Linked DNA regions of Homo sapiens: regions 2, 3, 4, 5, 6 and 7 are each linked to region 1. Evidence: promoter capture Hi-C in 16 types of primary human blood cells and fetal thymus (Javierre and others, 2016). All regions are on one chromosome and are shown on one strand. Each heading gives the region's core, a stretch centred on a gene start or on the middle of the fragment in contact. The rest is flanking DNA. Distances are from core to core; before and after follow the strand shown. Region 1 holds the start of PEX2 (peroxisomal biogenesis factor 2). Region 2 has its middle 52 kb from the start of LINC01109. Region 3 has its middle 35 kb from the start of LINC01109. Region 4 has its middle 18 kb from the start of LINC01109. Region 5 overlaps LINC01111 (long intergenic non-protein coding RNA 1111). Region 6 overlaps LINC01111 (long intergenic non-protein coding RNA 1111). Region 7 overlaps LINC01111 (long intergenic non-protein coding RNA 1111).

Region 1 (2,567 bases), core at 44-2,543:
TTTTCAGGTGGCCAGTGACTACTACACTGGACAGTTGCAGCTCTAGAAAATCCACTCCCAAACCCCTAAGTGAACTACATACTCTATCAATTTGTAGCTTCTACTCTATCTCATTTGTACCATTGTTTCACAATTTGGATAGCATTAGAGTTAATAAATTTTATTTTAGCAACTCTGCTCCATGGGTAGTTTCTGAAATAAAAATACAAGCAAAAAAAAAAAAACTTTCCTAATAACACTGGTTCTACAGTATAAGCTCTCCCTCGAATGTCTAATAGAGCTTTCGTAGAAGTGAGTGTTCCTTGTAGGAACGGTGAGTCGAGACTGGAGGTAAGAACTAAGACGTTCTTAAACCCTACTACGTGCTGGAATCCTGAAGTGCCTGCCATCATTCAAACTTAAGCACTAACTCTCTAGAGAGACACTGCCATTCATACCACAGAACGAGAAGGCAGTGGCGATCCTCAACGGCTACATGTCACTGCCTGGTGAGCACTCTTCCCTCAGACCCCATTCCCAGAAGCTCTGCCTCGATTCCCCAGGGGTAGGCGAGCTGGCTGCCCGAATTCCTAAGCGTTACCGGGGAGATGTGAGGGCCTCCGGGGGCGGGAAACCTCAGGCCAGGCGCGCGCTGGCCCGCTCTACGGGGTCTCTCGGGAGCGCTTTGCAGGGCGGATGACTGACGGGCCAGCTACCTGCCTTCCTGAGCCTGCAGAGATAAACAGCCTATCCTCCCTGTGCACACAGGCCCCGAGGGCGGGCAGGTCTCCAAGCGCAGCACAACTGCCCCAGGCCCGACGCAGCCACCTGCCCGAGGGCTCCCTCCCCACCAGGCCATCCCTCAGCCGGTCCTCCTCCGACAGCGAACAAGGAACCCCGGAGGCGCGGAGGCGTCTCGCCGCCACCCGGCGGCGCCTGCCAGAGGCCCTTCGCGATGTCCGCAAGCAGAGAAAGCCCTGCCCTCCCAAGCCCCGGCTTCCCCTAGGCCCCTCGACACTTGTAGTGTCCTCACTTGCGGCCCCTGACCCGGGGCTGACCGGTTCGTGACTCTCCTGCCAATCAGAGACAGAGTTCTTCCGGCCAACCGGCCAATCACCGCGCGCGGGTGTCCGCTTCGGCTTTTCGGCCCTTCGGCTCTTCGGCTTGTCGGCGTTCGCGGTTGTTTGGCCATCCAGTGCCTTCAGCAGCGCCGCTAAAGCGCAGTTCTCGTTGGTGTAACTTTTTCTTTTTTTTTTCAGCCACTTCCGGCTCCTGCGTCGCTCCGGAAGCCTGCGAGTTCCGGAAGCCTTGGTAATCCAGATTCGGCTAGGAAAAGACAAGCTTTCCAGAGAATGTTTCAGAGAAAGTTACGTGGAGCGTGGGCGTTTCGCAGACTCCTAAGGTCAGTGTCTGCCCTAGAGAGCCGGAGTGCAAACCCGAGGTCTTGTTTTCAGCTGGGAGGTCGTGGAGTTTCACGACCTTGTAATTGTCGCCGTTTGCTTTTTTTTCCCTGTTTATTGGCTTCCTGTCTCCCTGGAAAAGGCAAATCAAAGCTGCTGAATTTTGGGAAAGGCAGTGAAGCAAACCTAAACTCCTAAAGATGTTTTTAGGATCGCGGCATTAAAAATAAACACACACACAGCTGCAGTTGAGCCCCTCTGCATTCCACGTAGTAACTTAAGAGACGAACTTCGAAATCTTTTTCTCTCATTTGGCGGTCGTGAAGATATTTACCTCTTATAAACGGCTTTATAAAGAATTGAGGATCCAAACTTTACTTAATATCTGAAAGTTCATGTAAAGTGTTATATGTAGTACAAAAAATTTGAGTGCTTAGTTTTCTAACACTGTTGAAAGCGCACGTAAATGCAGTTTGGTTTTCTTATGGAGGAAGAGATAATGAAAAGTTTCTGATAAAATTGCTTGCGATAAATTAGTTATATTTCACGTTGACTTTTGATAAGAAATCTGAATGTGAGAATTGTTAACATTTTTTCCTGGGTTCTTAAATTAAAAATCGTTGTTTGTTTATTTATTGAGGTACCATTTTCCAAATTTCCCACATTTAGTGAAAGGGCTTTTGGCAAAATGAGCAAGCTGTTGAACGTTCAAGTCTAACACATTCTGTTAAACTTCCGTGATGCCCCTCGGAAATATTTTATCTTGACGTTTCGGACAATTAAATGATACTTGGGCGCTCACAACACCGCAGCTTGTAGTCTAAACACCTTCCCCTAAAGTGTTACCTTTACTTAATCCTGAACAGAATGAACTTGGGGTGGCTCTTTTAACTTATCTGATCTCACCTATATTATCAATTACTTGTTTCCAGAAAGATTACAGTTGAGTGATCTTGAGCCAGAAAGAGATTTGAAAGAATTATTTACAGAGTCAAAAAAAAAAACCCTTCATATTTTTTTCTTAAAAAAAAAAATAGAAGTAACAGGACATAGAGCGAATACTAGACTAGTAGACTGAAGAGTATTAGACTAAATCAAGACAGTTGGATTCTAGTCCTGACTCTAGTTGCCTTTGTACAATTTTACCTCTTGGCCGTATTCTCCTTATTTTTAGAAACTAGTGTTAGT
Region 2 (2,567 bases), core at 48-2,547, 650 kb after region 1:
TGTAATCTTGAAAGCTTGTAACAGAGGATGAGGTAAATATCATTTTATTTGCTCAAATAGGTTTAGATTAGATTGAGATGAAAAAGTAGGGATGGGCCAAATTAGTACTGAAAGCAGCAATTACAGATTATTGTTTCCAGCAGTAACTAGAATAGGTTATTTCACTGATAAAAAGGCTTATTGAAAAAATTGGTGATTTTCTTTATTTTTTAAATAAATAAGTAAAAGGAAAACATGAAATTAAAACTATGTTTAAGTATTAAAGTCATTGATCTTCTTTCAAATCAAAGCAGAACTTGAATGTGTAAATTTACCTACAAATATAGCCCCTTAACAATGAGTTCTTACAATGCATAAAGTGGCAAATCAGTAAAATACATTTTTGATTATGCAAGCATATTATATGTGATATTATTATTTAGCTTAAAAAAGTCTCTGAACCCTAAAGTCTGAAAGCATAAAATAGGCTCTAAAATTAATTCCTTAAATGACATGATTTCAGAAAAAATAGTGTACCAAACCATTCAAATGATACTGACAATAGGGCATGGAATTTAAAAGGTTTAACCATGTCTTATCTCAGAGTCTGTTTTATTTCTTCATCTTCTGAGCACTTCAAACATATAAGCTTTTATTCCATCTTTAGATCAGTAACTTTGAATTGTTCTACCTGTCATTCTGCAGTGACTAGCCCAGCTAGATGTCATACAATGATTGTTTGCACTTTCATTCTTTCACATTAAATGGCAATCATTCGGTCCTTTTGATTTGTTTCTTTTATTTAGCCCTGAAGTTTTTACACTAGAATCTCATTAAAGCTGAACTAGTGTACTCCTGTCAAAAAACTAATGGAAAAAAGTTTAAAAGTGAAATGTGTCCTCTATATTGTCACTACTAGAGAAGTTGCATCTATCAAGATTTTGCAAGTTTAGCACTTTGATTTATGTTCTATTGGGTCTGCTTGTCTCTTACTTTCTCTCTTCCATCTCATCTACAAAATGAGGAAAACCCAAAGAAACCAAGTTCATTTATGTAAAAGGAAGGACAGAAATATTTAGAAATATTTATGTTACCTCAAGTTCTCTGCTATTTAAATTATGTGTGTGTATACAGCTGAAAAAAAAATAACATTAATGTGTTTTGACATTCAGATGCTTTATTAGCAAGGCAAGTTACAATTGAAATCTTTTCAAAAATAAGTGTATTAAAATAGATCACTTAATGGCTTATTATATAAATGCTTATAGAGAACTCCATTTTTTCTTTCAGAATTAAGAAAATATTCTTCATATAAGGCAAATAACTTATGATCAAGGTAAGGATATCAATCATGACTAAAAATGAGAACTAATAAGAATGATAGTTCTTATATTGCATAGGATTTATTTATGCACAAGTATGTCCCATTGTTTTCAGAAAAAAAAAGTCTGGGTCATATTCATATAATCTAGGCACCACGGACAATGACAAATATATTCATTCAACATGAATCTCCTTTCATCATGTGCTGCTGTTCTGAAAGATAAGTGAAATAGATTGTGTGGAGGCTGATCCCTTTCTGAATTCCAGAAAATAAGATAAATGTCTTCAGAATGCTGGCAAATTAATCCCAGTGAAATTATGAACCACTGACTAAAGATCCGTCCAGAAAGGGATATAAATGGAAAGGGTGATAGCTGTAATTTTACAGGCACCTTTTCTATTCCTGCTGTATTTGTTCACTGATACTATGGTGTATTTTGCTCCTAAATTCTGTATCCAGAAATAAGATGTCCAATATATCTCAATTGAAGTCATAGGTTATATATATAGAATATGTGTGATTCTATTATAGCTATCTTTGTACTCAATATATAGATAGGATTTGAGATTTAGAATACAATTTCATTGTCAATCTCAAATATCTTTCTATTTTAATTATGCATCTATAAATAATTTTAATGGCATACAAGTGAATATAAGCTTTCTAAAAATATTGCTTGATAAAAAAATTTTAGAAAATCTGTTTTCTCTTGTCTTAAATATTTTCTGGATTGCCTAATGCAAATGAACATTTTGCAATGATTTATATAAGGAAGCCTCTAGATTACATAACACTAAATTATTTACTAAGAATTATGACCCCAGAAAGAGACAAATTTAAAGTACATTTTTTTTTGAAATCCTCTCAACAAAACAGCTGTATTTCTACCTTATCACCCATACAATGGCTTTCATAAGTTAATCTCCCCCCAGTATGTGAAACTTTTAATCAGCCCTCTGGTTCTCATTTTTTTTTTTTTTTTTTTTGCTTGTCATTAGTGTTTTATTTTTTAGTGTCAAAGAATCTAAAAAGCCATTTTAAAACAGGTACAAATTTATGCCTATCTAGTATATATGTTGCTTTTCTTATTTTATTTTATTTTTTTAATTTTATTATTATTATACTTTAAGTTTTAGGGTACATGTGCACAACGTGCAAGTTTGTTACATATGTATACATGTGCCATGTTGGTGTACTGCAACCATTAACTCATCATTTAGTATTAGGTATATCTCCTAATGCTATCCCTCCCCCCTCCCCCCAC
Region 3 (2,567 bases), core at 33-2,532, 630 kb after region 1:
ATGTAATAGCAGCTAGCATTTCTAAGTGAAAATACTTTAAAATCATCTTGGGATATATAGTCTATTAAGGGAAAAACTTCATTTTCTTTCCATAAAGAACATATAATTCTATTTCAGAACCTTATATTGAGTCTATTTAAATAAGTGTATTTTCAGTGCATATTTTTTATTGCATAGTTGATGGTTATATCTTCCTTTCTCTTTTTGCTTTATTTCAAAACAGGAAGTACATTTAGTTAAAAATCAAGGATCATATATTCAACAAATTTCTGAAAACTATTTTGTTAAAAAATGACTTTCTGGACAAAGAATAGGTTGAGAAATCTAAAATACTGCTGTACTTTCTCTTATTCTACAACGGATATTGTGAAAATCATATAAATACAAATTTCCTAGAGAATTGAAGGGAAAATATTTTAAATATTTTAAAGTTCTTAATAAAACCCAATTTCTTTTACATCAGTTGAACATGTTATAAGACAGCCAGAGCTTTTGCCTTATAGAATTACTTATTTATGTACATTCATATATTCTCTCATGAAAGTATGGCTTTTGTTGTTCTATTACTGGGAAACATGAAATATTTTTAAGTGATTCCAAAACTTGTTTTCTCCTGTCTAGGAACATAAAAATGAATAAATTCTAGAGGACAATTAACTGAGCTAGCCTTGTCCCAACATATGTCTAAAATAACTACCAAACAAGTAAAATATTTATTTCCATTCATGATATATCATTTTAAGTGATGCTTTTTAAAAATATTTATTACTTAAATATAAACATCTATTTGCTCTCTTGAATTCACGACACAGTTGTAGGACATCATGGGAGAGAATGAATTTTTTCATTGTAGTGTTGTTGATTGTTTTTTCTCTCCATTTCTGCCTTGCTTTTACCAACACTCCTTATTTTAAAAGAATTTTTAAATAGGGGAAACATAACGATTATTCAAAAAAGGAAAGTATGACTCTTACTTAAGCAGTTAATACTATGTGAATGTGCCAAACATCTGGGCTTTATATTACTTTGGTTAAAACATCTGTTACCTTTAGCTCTTTCATGTCTGTCATCCTTATAAAATTTCCCAGTAAGGTCTTAGTGATTCTTTTTCCATCCTTTAATTAAGATGTGCTTTAACTATGTAGTACTACAGTGAGTCACTTCCAGGAACTTCTTTATTAAAAAGTAAAAAAAAAATAATTAATTAGATACTTCACTTGGATGAAAATTCAAGGAATGATTATGGCTGAAATAAGGTAGAAAGGAAGGCATATTTATAATCACAACTTTAGGGGTAGACAGTTTTTTTTTGATGCAATAAATTTACAATTTATAGAGATACAACTGTCCTAATTGCAAAGAAAAATCCTGACCTACCATCCCAGGAATCAAAAACAAAGCCAAACTTCTCATTTCTTTTCAATTATAACACAATCATAATCTTATATAAAATATTGTTGAGGTAAATCCTACATATTAAAGCAGAAATTTTACTTCAATAATTTACTAAGTTACCTACTTGTCAATCTATTTTTTCTACTGAAATATTTACTTGGAATACCTTTTTTGGTCGCTATGCATTGACTTCTAAAAGTATTATTTTGACTCATATTTAGTTCTCTTTAGTATCCGAAAGCTGTCTAAACAGCTTCCTAGTGAAAATGGTAGCCCACTGCTAGCCCGCTGATGAGAGACGCTGTGTAGCAAATAGAATTTTGTGTCATTGGCTATGCCAGCAATGTGTTATTGCCTATGTTTTGATTTTGAGTAATAGGGTATACGTTCTTATTACTCAGTAGACTGTTTTTCCAACAACACAAAACACTGTATCTCAGCTTTACTAGATTTTCTGTTTGCTCTGAACATATTGCCTTAAATAAATTATTCTTTTCATATTTAAAAAGTGAGTCACAAGTATAATATCAAAGACTATACAAAGCACAATGTATTCACGTCAGAATCATCTTTGACCCATTAACCCTGAGAGGGAAGAGATGTCATGGGTTTTGGGAGGCAACATAAATGGCCATATTTGGACTTGCATATTTGAATTTGTAAACGATATTTAAGAAGAGCCAAGGAGATAAAATTCTTTTAACACTATGCTATACCTTATAAATTATAAATTGCTATTGTTTTGATTAAGTAAAAATACAGTTATCTTAAAGACAAGATCTTTTTTTTTCTACAGAGTCAAGAATCATGAAGATCGGAGGTAGAATGATACTCACAGAAATCAAATAAATAAAAAATAGGTTATTTACATTCAAAAATATTTCACGGTGAGAATTTTGCAAAGTATTGTAGGGAACAAGCTAAAAAATAACTGTTTCTCTTAGATTTGGGCATGCATATACTTCTGATTGTTCCCAGAAATTTACCATATATAATACTTTTGTTACTATAATTAATAAGAACTAACTATTGTGGAATAAGTTTGGTAGAAGCCATGGTCTGTTTGTGACAATTAATAGAGTGAGAACTAATTAGTATTTAAGAATGTAGCAAGAATTTACTCTCAATTAAAGCTGGGTTCCATGATGAGAATGTAGTTAATAAATACCATA
Region 4 (2,567 bases), core at 38-2,537, 610 kb after region 1:
TTGAAAATTTCCCTTGAATCTCTCTCCCAATCTCCCAAAATACAGGTGGCATTTAGTTATTTGTGTGTGTGTGTGTGTGTGTGTGTGTGTGTGTGTGTGTGTGTGTGTGTTTGGCTTTGAGAGTCTTTTGAATTTTCTAAATTATGCTACATTACTGCTTCTGCATGAACTCTGTGGCATGGACTGAATAAATAAATCAGAAAATCAAGTCTTTCTTGTCAACTACATTCCAAGTTTCTTCCCAAAGGTGGCAGTAATCCATGTGGCATTCAAACACTTCTAAATATGTCTAAAGTGTGTGTTTATTGCTCTAATTATTTTCCATGAAAGCAGTTCTACTTTATTACCCAAATGAGAGTTATTATTGTCTTTCCTTCTGATAATTGCATTTGTGGTATTTATTTCAGGGTTTTTAAGATCCTTTAAAACCTATTTAGTTTTTTTACGAATTTAATGCTAATTAAAATAATGGATTAGTAGGCTTGGAAAATCAAATCACTATTCAGCCAGAACAACAGAAGAGCTTATTTAATTGACCACCCTGAATCATATTAAACCAATCCTGAAAGAATCATCACACAGATTCAGATATTGCAGATACTGTCATTCTTTCTATATGACATACTAAAATATTTTTCCAGATATTTTTAAAGAGTAAATTAAAGGCTGATTAAATTAGTAAGTGGTTAATCTCTGATCTCATAAAGAAGGCAGATGGACATTTTTTCAATAAACTTCTATCATTTTTAAAGTTAATTTCTGCAGACATAGTTATTTCAACTGATGCTATGGAAGTCAAGCAACTTTCAATGTGGGGATTATTAACACCATCGAATGCTTTGTTTTTGATCACAGGTGGCTATGGACAGTGAATCACAGCTACTATACAGTTTTCAACCAGGGTGGCAATTTGCCTATCAGGATTAAGATTAGAGTAGAAGGGTAGCCTTTCTTTATGAGAAAATAGTGATATTTTTAAATAAAATGGCAAATTATTTGCCACGGTTTATAAGTTTATCCAAGTTTTAAACTTGTAGTTTTGCAAATATTCTTTATTATCAAATATTTATTATTAACATTAATTATCTTTGTTATTAAATATATCTTTATTATCACATCAGTTGAATTTATTTCTATAAAGTAAATCAATAATAAATTTGATTTGTTTACTGAATTTTTTAAGCTGACTAAATGTTTTGGTGTTTGAAAAACACAGGCAGATTCTGCAAGAGGAAACCGAGTCTAACTGGGTTCAACACATTCTTGATTCATCAGATTTGTTTTAAGATATGGCTTCTAGCTGTTTCAACAGACCAACACCACCTGCAAGTGTGCACTAACCCAGAGAAGGTTCAGACATAGACACTCATACGCCGTGCTGATGATGTACTCTAACACAATCTTTTTGGAGGACAATTTTTAAGTATGTTAAAGTCTCTAAAATGGGCTTAACTATTCGTCCCACAATTTCTTTCTAATTGTTTTTTGGAGACAGGGTCTCACCATGTCACCCAGGCTGGTCTCAAACTTCTGGGCTCAAGCGATCCACCCACCTTAGCCTCACAAATTCCTGGGATTACAGGCATGAACCACTGCACCTGTCCTGTCCTGTAATTTCAATTGCAGAAATCTAATTTATGGAATTCAGCAAGGATGTGTGATTTAATTAGGGGAAATATTCATCACAGTGTTGTTTATAATAGAGAAAAACATAGAAGTAAGCATTTAACTATTATACAGTTAATCCAATAAATTAAGGTACAACACCACGATGGAGAACAATACTGACAAGGAAAGATGTTAACCTATATTTAACCTATATTAAGATCTAATTACAAAATACATATTTGGTGTACTAAATATTATATATCTTTGCAATAAGTGACAGGGACAGTACACTGTGACAACTCTGAGTAGAGTCAGTGGCATTCAAATTTTCTTCTTTTTGGTTGGCTTTATTTTCTAAATATAATTTTACAAGGATGGATATTTTTGTGTAAGAAGGGAAAAGCTAAAATTCACAGCACATATCATGGACTGGTTTTTCAAGAGAGATAACTCTATTTGTCCTTAAACTTTCATCTTTAGCAGAGATGTAAAATGAGGATTTAAGTGAGATATTTTTTTCTTAAACCACTTTATTGAAGTATAATTGACATGCAAAAAGTGGTACATATTTAATGTATATAACTCGATGAGTTTGTGAATAATAATTAGACAACCAATACAGTGTTGTATACTTAAGATTTGCTGAGTATATGTAGATACTGTGTGAAGTGTTCTCACCAGAACAAATAGTAATAATGACAGTGGCATTTTTAATAACATATTGTCTTCTCCAATTTGGGGATTTATCATCTTGGAGTATAAGGCACACAGTCCTATTTCCTATTTTAATGCCTCATCAGTGCTATATGTCAAGGGAGCTCTTGTGTGCTATTTGTATAGGAAATATAAGTGTGTGTATATATACACACACAGACACATACATATACACACAAATATACACACAAACATATACATACACACATACGTGTGTATATATACATACAGCTACATATTACATA
Region 5 (2,567 bases), core at 47-2,546, 590 kb after region 1:
TAGAAATGAGAGTATTTAAAAAAGATTTTGAATGATTATTTAAAATTATTTACAGTAACAATGGGTAACACAAAGTATATATTACTTGTATAAAATCTTGCTCCAATTTACTTTTAAGTAACTAGTATTTAAAAGGAACTCTTAAGGCAGAGATTTAAATACACATTAATTTAATTCTCTTATGTCATTGTAATTGTCATAGAATATGTGTTTTTTTCATGATTAAAGTAAAATCTTCCAAGTGATCTCAAAATTACTGAAATATTAGTAAGTCTTTCTATTTATTCCTGGAATGGTCTCTTCTACAAACTATGAAAAGGATCAGACTAAGTATTTAAATATAAAAATTAAACCTATGTTTTTATTTAAGTATAGAGACTGTCAGGTGATACCAAAAGTAAGAATAATTTTTATTTGATCCTATGCTTTGGGGATGTTTTCTATCTTCTACTTTGATTTCGTCATTTCTTGATGTCTATATATGTCAATCATGCATTTTTACTATCAAACACTTTTGGTCATGCATATGTACGCAAATACATATACCATATAAGTACACACACATTTTCTATTCTTAATTGAAAGAATTTGTAGTTATGAACTGTTAATAGTTCTCTAAGTAGCAATGATGTATATACAATTTAAAATCTGAGAGGAAAGCAATTATACCTATATCTATCTATCCACCTATAGATGTAAATATCTATATATGTCCTCTAGAATTAATGCTTCAGTCACATGTCATTTTGTGTCTTCAACTAGAGCACCTACTACTGGCTTTCCTTTCTTCTGCTTGAGACTGACGTCATATAAATATCTATATGTATATAGATATATATCTATCTGTATCTATCTACATATCTTCCTATAGTTGAGAATAAATTATTATACTATTTTGTATATCTATACTGTTTATATATATTTATATAGTTTATATATAACTACTTAAATAAATATGTTTATATTTATAATTTTATCTATTCAAAGATATGTACATGTGTATTCTTATAGGTCTAGAAATTTCCCGTTCGTTATTTGGGTAGAAGAAAATGAAGAAAATGTAATCAAAACAGTGCTGTTGATGATTTCCTTCTTAATAAAAGTGAAAATATTAAACTGACTTTAAAAGTCAAGTCATGAATGTGTGTGTGTTCTAAATGTTGTGGCCTAAGTCTTACAATTCTGAGTGCTTTATAAACACAGCAAAGCCCTCAGCTACCCTACTAAAAAGACCAACAAAACATGTTAATGTTAAATTCAGCAAGGCTCAAGTTCTCAGTTTAACACACATGGGGCTCCACTGCTCTAATCTATACAGGACAAGGACTTACTGGCCCTGGAATGCTCGGCCCTGTTTTCTGGGCCTTGTTCCTCTGGCTAACAACCTTACTAGTTAGTATAACAGTGGCTACATAAGTTATGGTGGGAAAAATGTAACAATAATGTGCATTTTGACCAGTTAGTAAAAAATCCTCTAATATAAACAGAAAGATAACACAGAGAAATTGCCCTGAACTCATGTCATCTTACTATTTTCCTATGCAAGGGGCACAAATAGGCTTGCTCCCTTCTCAAACTTGGATGAGACACTTCAGTTTTAAGTTGGCATTTTAGTTTGTTTTTGGTTTTGGTTTTGATTTTCTGGTTTAAAATATGTACCCAGTTGTATTCCTACACAGAAGGAAGAGATAATAGCCAATAAATATGAACCATATCTACAAAACACTGATAAGAAATCGTACATGCTTTTCTGTGTGGATGTTAAAACAGTATCATTAATATTATTTTGGATAGAATTTTCACTCCTGCTGCTTAGAAAGCAAATGAGCTAATGATATAATTTCTCTTCTTGATAGAGATTCATCAGTGTGTTGATTCCCAAAACTGCATGGTAAGTACATGCACAAACGTAATCAACCAAATCATTAGCATTTATTAAAGAAGACAGTTTCAAATTGATGGGCAGTTCTGAAGAAACGTATAAATATAAATCTTTTCCTTTCTAAATCTTATTTGAATTACAACCAAAATATATTCTTTGAATATAACCAAATGTATTCTTACTTTTTTAAATAAAATGGTCAACACCATCTATTAGAAAAAATATCATTTTGAAGCCTAATAAATTGAATTTCAGACTCATGTGAAATAGCAAATATGTGTTAAAAATGATGCAGTCATGTCTTTGTTTAACATGGATAAATAACATTGTTTCAAACTAATATATCAGTCTCCAATCTTTGCTTGCATTGTGTTATGAAGTTGATGGTTATACTCTGTCATCAGATGTTATCATTAGGACCCCAGAAAAAGAGTTCCATTTAAATATTGTTTCTAACTCTGATAGTAATCAGATTACTGTTATTACTAGATCAAGGCAACTTTATGTTAGTTATCATTCTTCCATCTTTTCACATAAAAGAGTAAATATACAAGTACAGTATTGCCAGTTAGTGGTAATACTCTTGTTTTTCATTAGTAGAGATACTTAGCACCAAACTATCAAATAGTTTATTTTCCTTAAAAGTTAGATTGTGGAATACAAGCATATAGTTTCCCAAAAAGTT
Region 6 (2,567 bases), core at 41-2,540, 570 kb after region 1:
AAATTGAATTGGATTATAGAAAAATAAATAGGAGAGAAAACCTGGAATTGAATTCCATAATCACAGGAAACATGTGGATTCACTTAGGGCTACAGGTGTTTCTTGGGTAAAGGAGGGTACGGCCTGTTTCTGAATTGGTCCCTATTTGGGTCCAGAGGCATCCCGAATGTCAAGAAGACTGAGGTGGTGCCTAGGTATTGGAGATTGGATGGTGAGGGGTGTCAAAAATTTAATTTGCGATAATATTTTTGAGCTGTAAATCCACCAAGAACTTTCTCTGACAGCTTTTATGCTGAAAACCTCCACGGATGTTTCATTTTGAGAGACAGTGTAGTGTAGTTAAGAGCATGGATTCTAGAGTTGATCTGCTTGTGTTTAATTTCAAGATCCACTATTTATTTGCTGCACGTCCTTGCTCAACTTACTTACTTACTCTCTCTGTTCTTCTATTTCCTCATCTTCAGATGGCGGTAATATTATCTACCTCATAGTTGAGGTATTAAATTAGTTGATACAGGCAGGACACTTATGACAGTACATGGCATATAGCAAATATTTACATAGCACCTACTAGTATTATTTACCAGCCTTTAGCTTAAATTAATACCAGTCATATTTATGAAATACCAGTCCCCTTCCTTGATTAAAAAGACAAAATTGACAAATGGGATCTAATTAAACTAAAGAGCTTCTGCACAGCAAAAGAAACTACCATCAGAGTGAACAGGCAACCTACAACATGGGAGAAAATTTTTGCAACCTACTCATCTGACAAAGGGCTAATATCCAGAATCTACAATGAACTCAAACAAATTTACAAGAAAAAAACAAACAACCCCATCAAAAAGTGGGCGAAGGACATGAACAGACACTTCTCAAAAGAAGACATTTATGCAGCCAAAAAACACATGAAGAAATGCTCATCATCACTGGCCATCAGAGAAATGCAAATCAAAACCACTATGAGATATCATCTCACACCATTTAGAATGGCAATCATTAAAAAGTCAGGAAACAACAGGTGCTGGAGAGGATGCGGAGAAATAGGAACACTTTTACACTGTTGGTGGGACTGTAAACTAGTTCAACCATTGTGGAAGTCAGTGTGGCGATTCCTCAGGGATCTAGAACTAGAAATACCATTTGACCCAGCCATCCCATTACTGGGTATATACCCAAATGAGTATAAATCATGCTGCTATAAAGACACATGCACACGTATGTTTATTGCGGCACTATTCACAATAGCAAAGACTTGGAACCAACCCAAATGTCCAACAATGATAGACTGGATTAAGAAAATGTGGCACATATACACCATGGAATACTATGCAGCCATAAAAAATGATGAGTTCATATCCTTTGTAGGGACATGGATGAAATTGGAAACCATCATTCTCAGTAAACTATCGCAAGAACAAAAAACCAAACACCGCATATTCTCACTCATAGGTGGGAATTGAACAATGAGATCACATGGACACAGGAAGGGGAATATCACACTCTGGGGACTGTGGTGGGGTCGGGGGAGGGGGAAGGGATAGCATTGGGAGATATACCTAATGCTAGATGACACATTAGTGGGTGCAGCGCACCAGCATGGCACATGTATACATATGTAACTAACCTGCACAATGTGCACATGTACCCTAAAACTTAGAGTATAATAAAAAAAAAAAAAAAAAAAAAAAAAACCAGCTCCCCATACATCTAGTTAACAACCCAAAGTCTGTATCTACCACTAAACATGGCAACTTAGTCATTTACCAACTTAGGTTCACATTCAGTGGAAAGAAAATAAGTGATAAGGTAAAGTTTAGGAAGAACTGACCCACTTATGCCTAGTGTTCCATTATTGGAGTGCTAAGAATGTGAGAGTTTTTTATATCCTGCTGCTCAAGGTTATTACCAAGGTCTGATTTTTTCACTCATGTAAAAGTTCAAAAAATGGCAACCTCTGGCATAAATGGGTTAATAATAGCCAGGGACAAAGGTGATGGACGCAGATGCAGGAGATCAAGTGCTATTTTTGGCACAAAGTTACTCACTGTCTCCGGGTGATACTCTGTTGAGATTACCTGGTCACTGAAATCTCAGACTGACTTTCCAGCTGGATTTTACACAGTATGAGACAATAATTTTTATGAAACAGGGAAAGGGTAATTCATAGCAAGTGTGATGTGGCTATTTATACATATGTGTATGTATATGCTCCCACACATATTTATAAACTAATTTGTACTAGATAAAATTAATGCATAATTGACTTATTTTTTAGGTGACAAAATAGTGAAGCAAAAGTTTAAATATACCATGCTAAACTTACAAAATAGAAAGTACAAGAATTTTCCCACGTATTTTTCTCTATAAAATTTTTGAAAATTTACTAAACATATTGTTAACCTGGCTCATGTAAGTTTAGATTTTCATATAAATAGAAGACATAATTACTCTAGAAATGCATGTGCCCATAATTGCATTTTAAAACTTTTGCTTTTATAATTGCTGCTTCTGAGGATTTCTCACATGCACACACACACACACACACACACACACACACACACAAA
Region 7 (2,567 bases), core at 29-2,528, 550 kb after region 1:
AATCAACACTTCTCTCCCTGTTTATACCACACATACTTTCAGCTCAGTGATTCCCAACAGAGGGCAATCCCTTCCTCACCCCACACCCCCAAGCAGAACATTGGCAATGTCTGGAGACATTTTTTATTGTCTTGACTGTGTGCGGAGGGCAGGGGGCTACTGGCGTCTAGAGGGTGGAAGGCTGGGATGTTGCTAAATAGCTTACAACACACAGGACAGCTCCCTACAACAACAAATTATTCCATCTAAAATGTCAGTAGTGCAAGGTTAGGAAGCCCTGCCCTAGAGTTTAAGTTTCAAGATGGCCTTTACCTGCAAATCACAGTCTTTGGAATTGCAGTGTGATTTGCTGGGGTTTCTCAATAGCTACTACCCTGTTCCCTACACCCCCAGCCCCCAGCAAACACCTGGGTGATGTGTGACATACTTTTTATTAACAATATTTTCCTGGGGGAATGATGTGGGAGGATGTGGACAATGGCAGCATGCCTATAATTTGAGAAGAGTTCCCAGGTAATTTCTTTATTGCCCACTCCTCTCAACAATTGAGTTACCACTATAATTTAGAAAGTCTGAAGACAGTGATTGTCAAAGTGCTTTGATTTACATCCTTCTCCATCTTCTCCCCTCCCAAAGATTTACCACGTGTTTGTCCATGGCTGCTTTTGAAAGATATAAAATGTCTCAAGCTAGAATTTTCTACTTATAAAATAAAGCTTATTTTGTTATGTAGTGATGTTGGAAAAAATAAGTCGTAAAATTTCTGAGAAGGTACTTATATATTAATTCCATGGTATTACTCCAGGAATTTAGACAAATAATCTGTTCCTTGGTAAATATGGATGACTTACAGAAAGTCAGTTTTATTTGATATTAAGCACTTTTACTTAAGCACTTATTTTGACATCCCCAATCCATCTAGTCTATGGAATAAACCATACGTTTTAATTTCCAAAATTTGGATCTTTGGTCACTTAGCATTAATATATTTATTTCTATTATGTGTAATATATATTATTCACTCATAAAAATATATATTCTCTATATGTGTAATATATGTCTGTGATAGTATATACAATATAAGGTATAGATAATATAATAATGCCTGTGATATCATATAGAATATGTATGTTCATTCTTATGGTTATTTCCTGCAAGCCCCAAACCCCTGCACTCCTGTTCAAAGCAGTAAATTGCTGCAGCCAACCCTATGGACTCAGAATTCAGTGATGCCTCAGATAGAGGCAGTGTTGACCACAGATACCACTTCCCTCCCTCCTCACTGAGCACAGATGCCACCTCTGTTCACTGTAGTCTGCCAACATTTTCTCTTTCAGTTTCTAATGTGGCAAGAAGGGAAGGGCTGATTGTGGTTCTGGAAAGAAAGAACAGGTTGAAAGGGTGAGAGATCTTGGCAGTAGTTACTCCTTATTTCTGCCCTGTTTGATAGCCTTTCTGCCTGCTTTCACAAGCATATAGGCTGTATTTGGTTTTCCAGTTGCTACTTTCGGAGTTCATCTTCGTCTGTTTATGTGTAACGGGTACCAACACTTTCAACATAGTTATTAGAAATAATCATTTTAAAACATTTTCAAGTCATTTGAAAAATGTCCTACCTCTCAAGTAGGGCTCACATAATACACAAATATCAATTGCTTTGCTAGTCATTATATTTATGTATATTTTATCTTAGTATGTGATCATTGGGACAATAAAATAATATTAAATAAAAATTTGGTAAGAGAAATAAAAAATCTCTGGTAATAAATAGCATAGAAGGCAAAAGTATTTTACAAAGTTGTTTTCAGAGAAGTGGAAGTGGCATCTCAATGAAGCTTTTCAAACATGACTTACCAGAGTGGCTAGTCTGAGTCCAACACAAAACTATTGACATATTTTCCATTGAAGGGGAAGGTAAATGTGAATCTTAAAGTGCTGCAATCTTCACTTTGCTTGTTTCCCCCACTTTTCATAATCAGTGACAATCCGTTGTATTTTCCTTGCATCTCAATTTAAATCTAAATAAATTAATATTTTACATTTATATTGTTAGCTGCAATTAAGATATAAGAACTCTTCTGATTTTAGGCATTTGTTTTTATTTATTCTCAAGTATGCCATCTGTCAGAATTGAGAAAAAAATAGCAACATATGGATGAATTCTTTGTGTTTCTCTAGATATTTTAGAATCAATATGTTCCAAGATATGTTGCCAACTACATGTTTTTGATTGCTGGTGCTTACATTTGGGTTTATGAATTAACTTGCAGACAATAAAAGGTAAAACTTCAGCTCTTGCAGGGAGTAGTCTATGCATTAATACTAAAAAACATGCAGCTTGTATATTTCAAAATAACTAGAGGAGTGGATTTGGGATGTTCCCAATACAAAGAAATGATAAATATTTGAGGTAATAGATGTCGCAGTTACCCTGATTTGATCACTACGCATTATATGCTTATATCAAAATATCACATGTACCCCATACATATGTACAGCTATTATGTACCCACAACAATTTTTGAAGGTAAAAAACATGTGGCATAAATTTCTATTTTCTAAAATCA

What was found. The method cuts DNA at HindIII sites, captures the fragments that hold promoters and counts their contacts. A CHiCAGO score of 5 or more calls a contact.
Region 2: a fragment that was not itself captured here is called in contact with the fragment with the promoter of PEX2 in region 1 in 2 of 17 cell types (M2 macrophages and M0 macrophages); the score reaches 6.4 in M2 macrophages.
Region 3: a contact is called between a fragment that was not itself captured here and the fragment with the promoter of PEX2 in region 1, in 5 of 17 cell types (M2 macrophages, M1 macrophages, M0 macrophages and 2 more). The highest score is 13.0, in M2 macrophages.
Region 4: a contact is called between a fragment that was not itself captured here and the fragment with the promoter of PEX2 in region 1, in 1 of 17 cell types (M0 macrophages). The highest score is 5.6, in M0 macrophages.
Region 5: a fragment that was not itself captured here is called in contact with the fragment with the promoter of PEX2 in region 1 in 1 of 17 cell types (M2 macrophages); the score reaches 6.3 in M2 macrophages.
Region 6: a contact is called between a fragment that was not itself captured here and the fragment with the promoter of PEX2 in region 1, in 2 of 17 cell types (M2 macrophages and M1 macrophages). The highest score is 6.1, in M2 macrophages.
Region 7: a contact is called between a fragment that was not itself captured here and the fragment with the promoter of PEX2 in region 1, in 1 of 17 cell types (M2 macrophages). The highest score is 6.0, in M2 macrophages.

Annotation. Positions count from the first base shown.
Region 1 is chr8:76,998,804-77,001,370 of GRCh38, reverse strand. PEX2 (peroxisomal biogenesis factor 2) reads left to right here and starts at 1,293. Exons shown (of 4, transcript NM_000318.3): 1 at 1,293-1,381. RefSeq lists an enhancer at 1,004-1,298. The HindIII fragment of the contact is 1,935 bases long and covers 1-1,322 here.
Region 2 is chr8:76,350,800-76,353,366 of GRCh38, reverse strand. No RefSeq gene overlaps it. Among named protein-coding and RNA genes, the nearest start is that of LINC01109, 52 kb to the left of the region's middle. The HindIII fragment of the contact is 1,334 bases long and covers 631-1,964 here.
Region 3 is chr8:76,368,181-76,370,747 of GRCh38, reverse strand. No RefSeq gene overlaps it. Among named protein-coding and RNA genes, the nearest start is that of LINC01109, 35 kb to the left of the region's middle. The HindIII fragment of the contact is 2,587 bases long and covers 1-2,567 here.
Region 4 is chr8:76,384,643-76,387,209 of GRCh38, reverse strand. No RefSeq gene overlaps it. Among named protein-coding and RNA genes, the nearest start is that of LINC01109, 18 kb to the left of the region's middle. The HindIII fragment of the contact is 3,641 bases long and covers 1-2,567 here.
Region 5 is chr8:76,407,065-76,409,631 of GRCh38, reverse strand. All of the region lies in intron 1 of LINC01111 (long intergenic non-protein coding RNA 1111), which reads right to left. Among named protein-coding and RNA genes, the nearest start is that of LINC01111, 1.7 kb to the right of the region's middle. The HindIII fragment of the contact is 4,473 bases long and covers 1-2,567 here.
Region 6 is chr8:76,424,274-76,426,840 of GRCh38, reverse strand. The region is part of intron 1 of LINC01111 (long intergenic non-protein coding RNA 1111); the gene reads right to left. Among named protein-coding and RNA genes, the nearest start is that of LINC01111, 19 kb to the right of the region's middle. The HindIII fragment of the contact is 5,584 bases long and covers 1-2,567 here.
Region 7 is chr8:76,453,669-76,456,235 of GRCh38, reverse strand. All of the region lies in intron 2 of LINC01111 (long intergenic non-protein coding RNA 1111), which reads right to left. Among named protein-coding and RNA genes, the nearest start is that of LINC01111, 48 kb to the right of the region's middle. The HindIII fragment of the contact is 1,119 bases long and covers 719-1,837 here.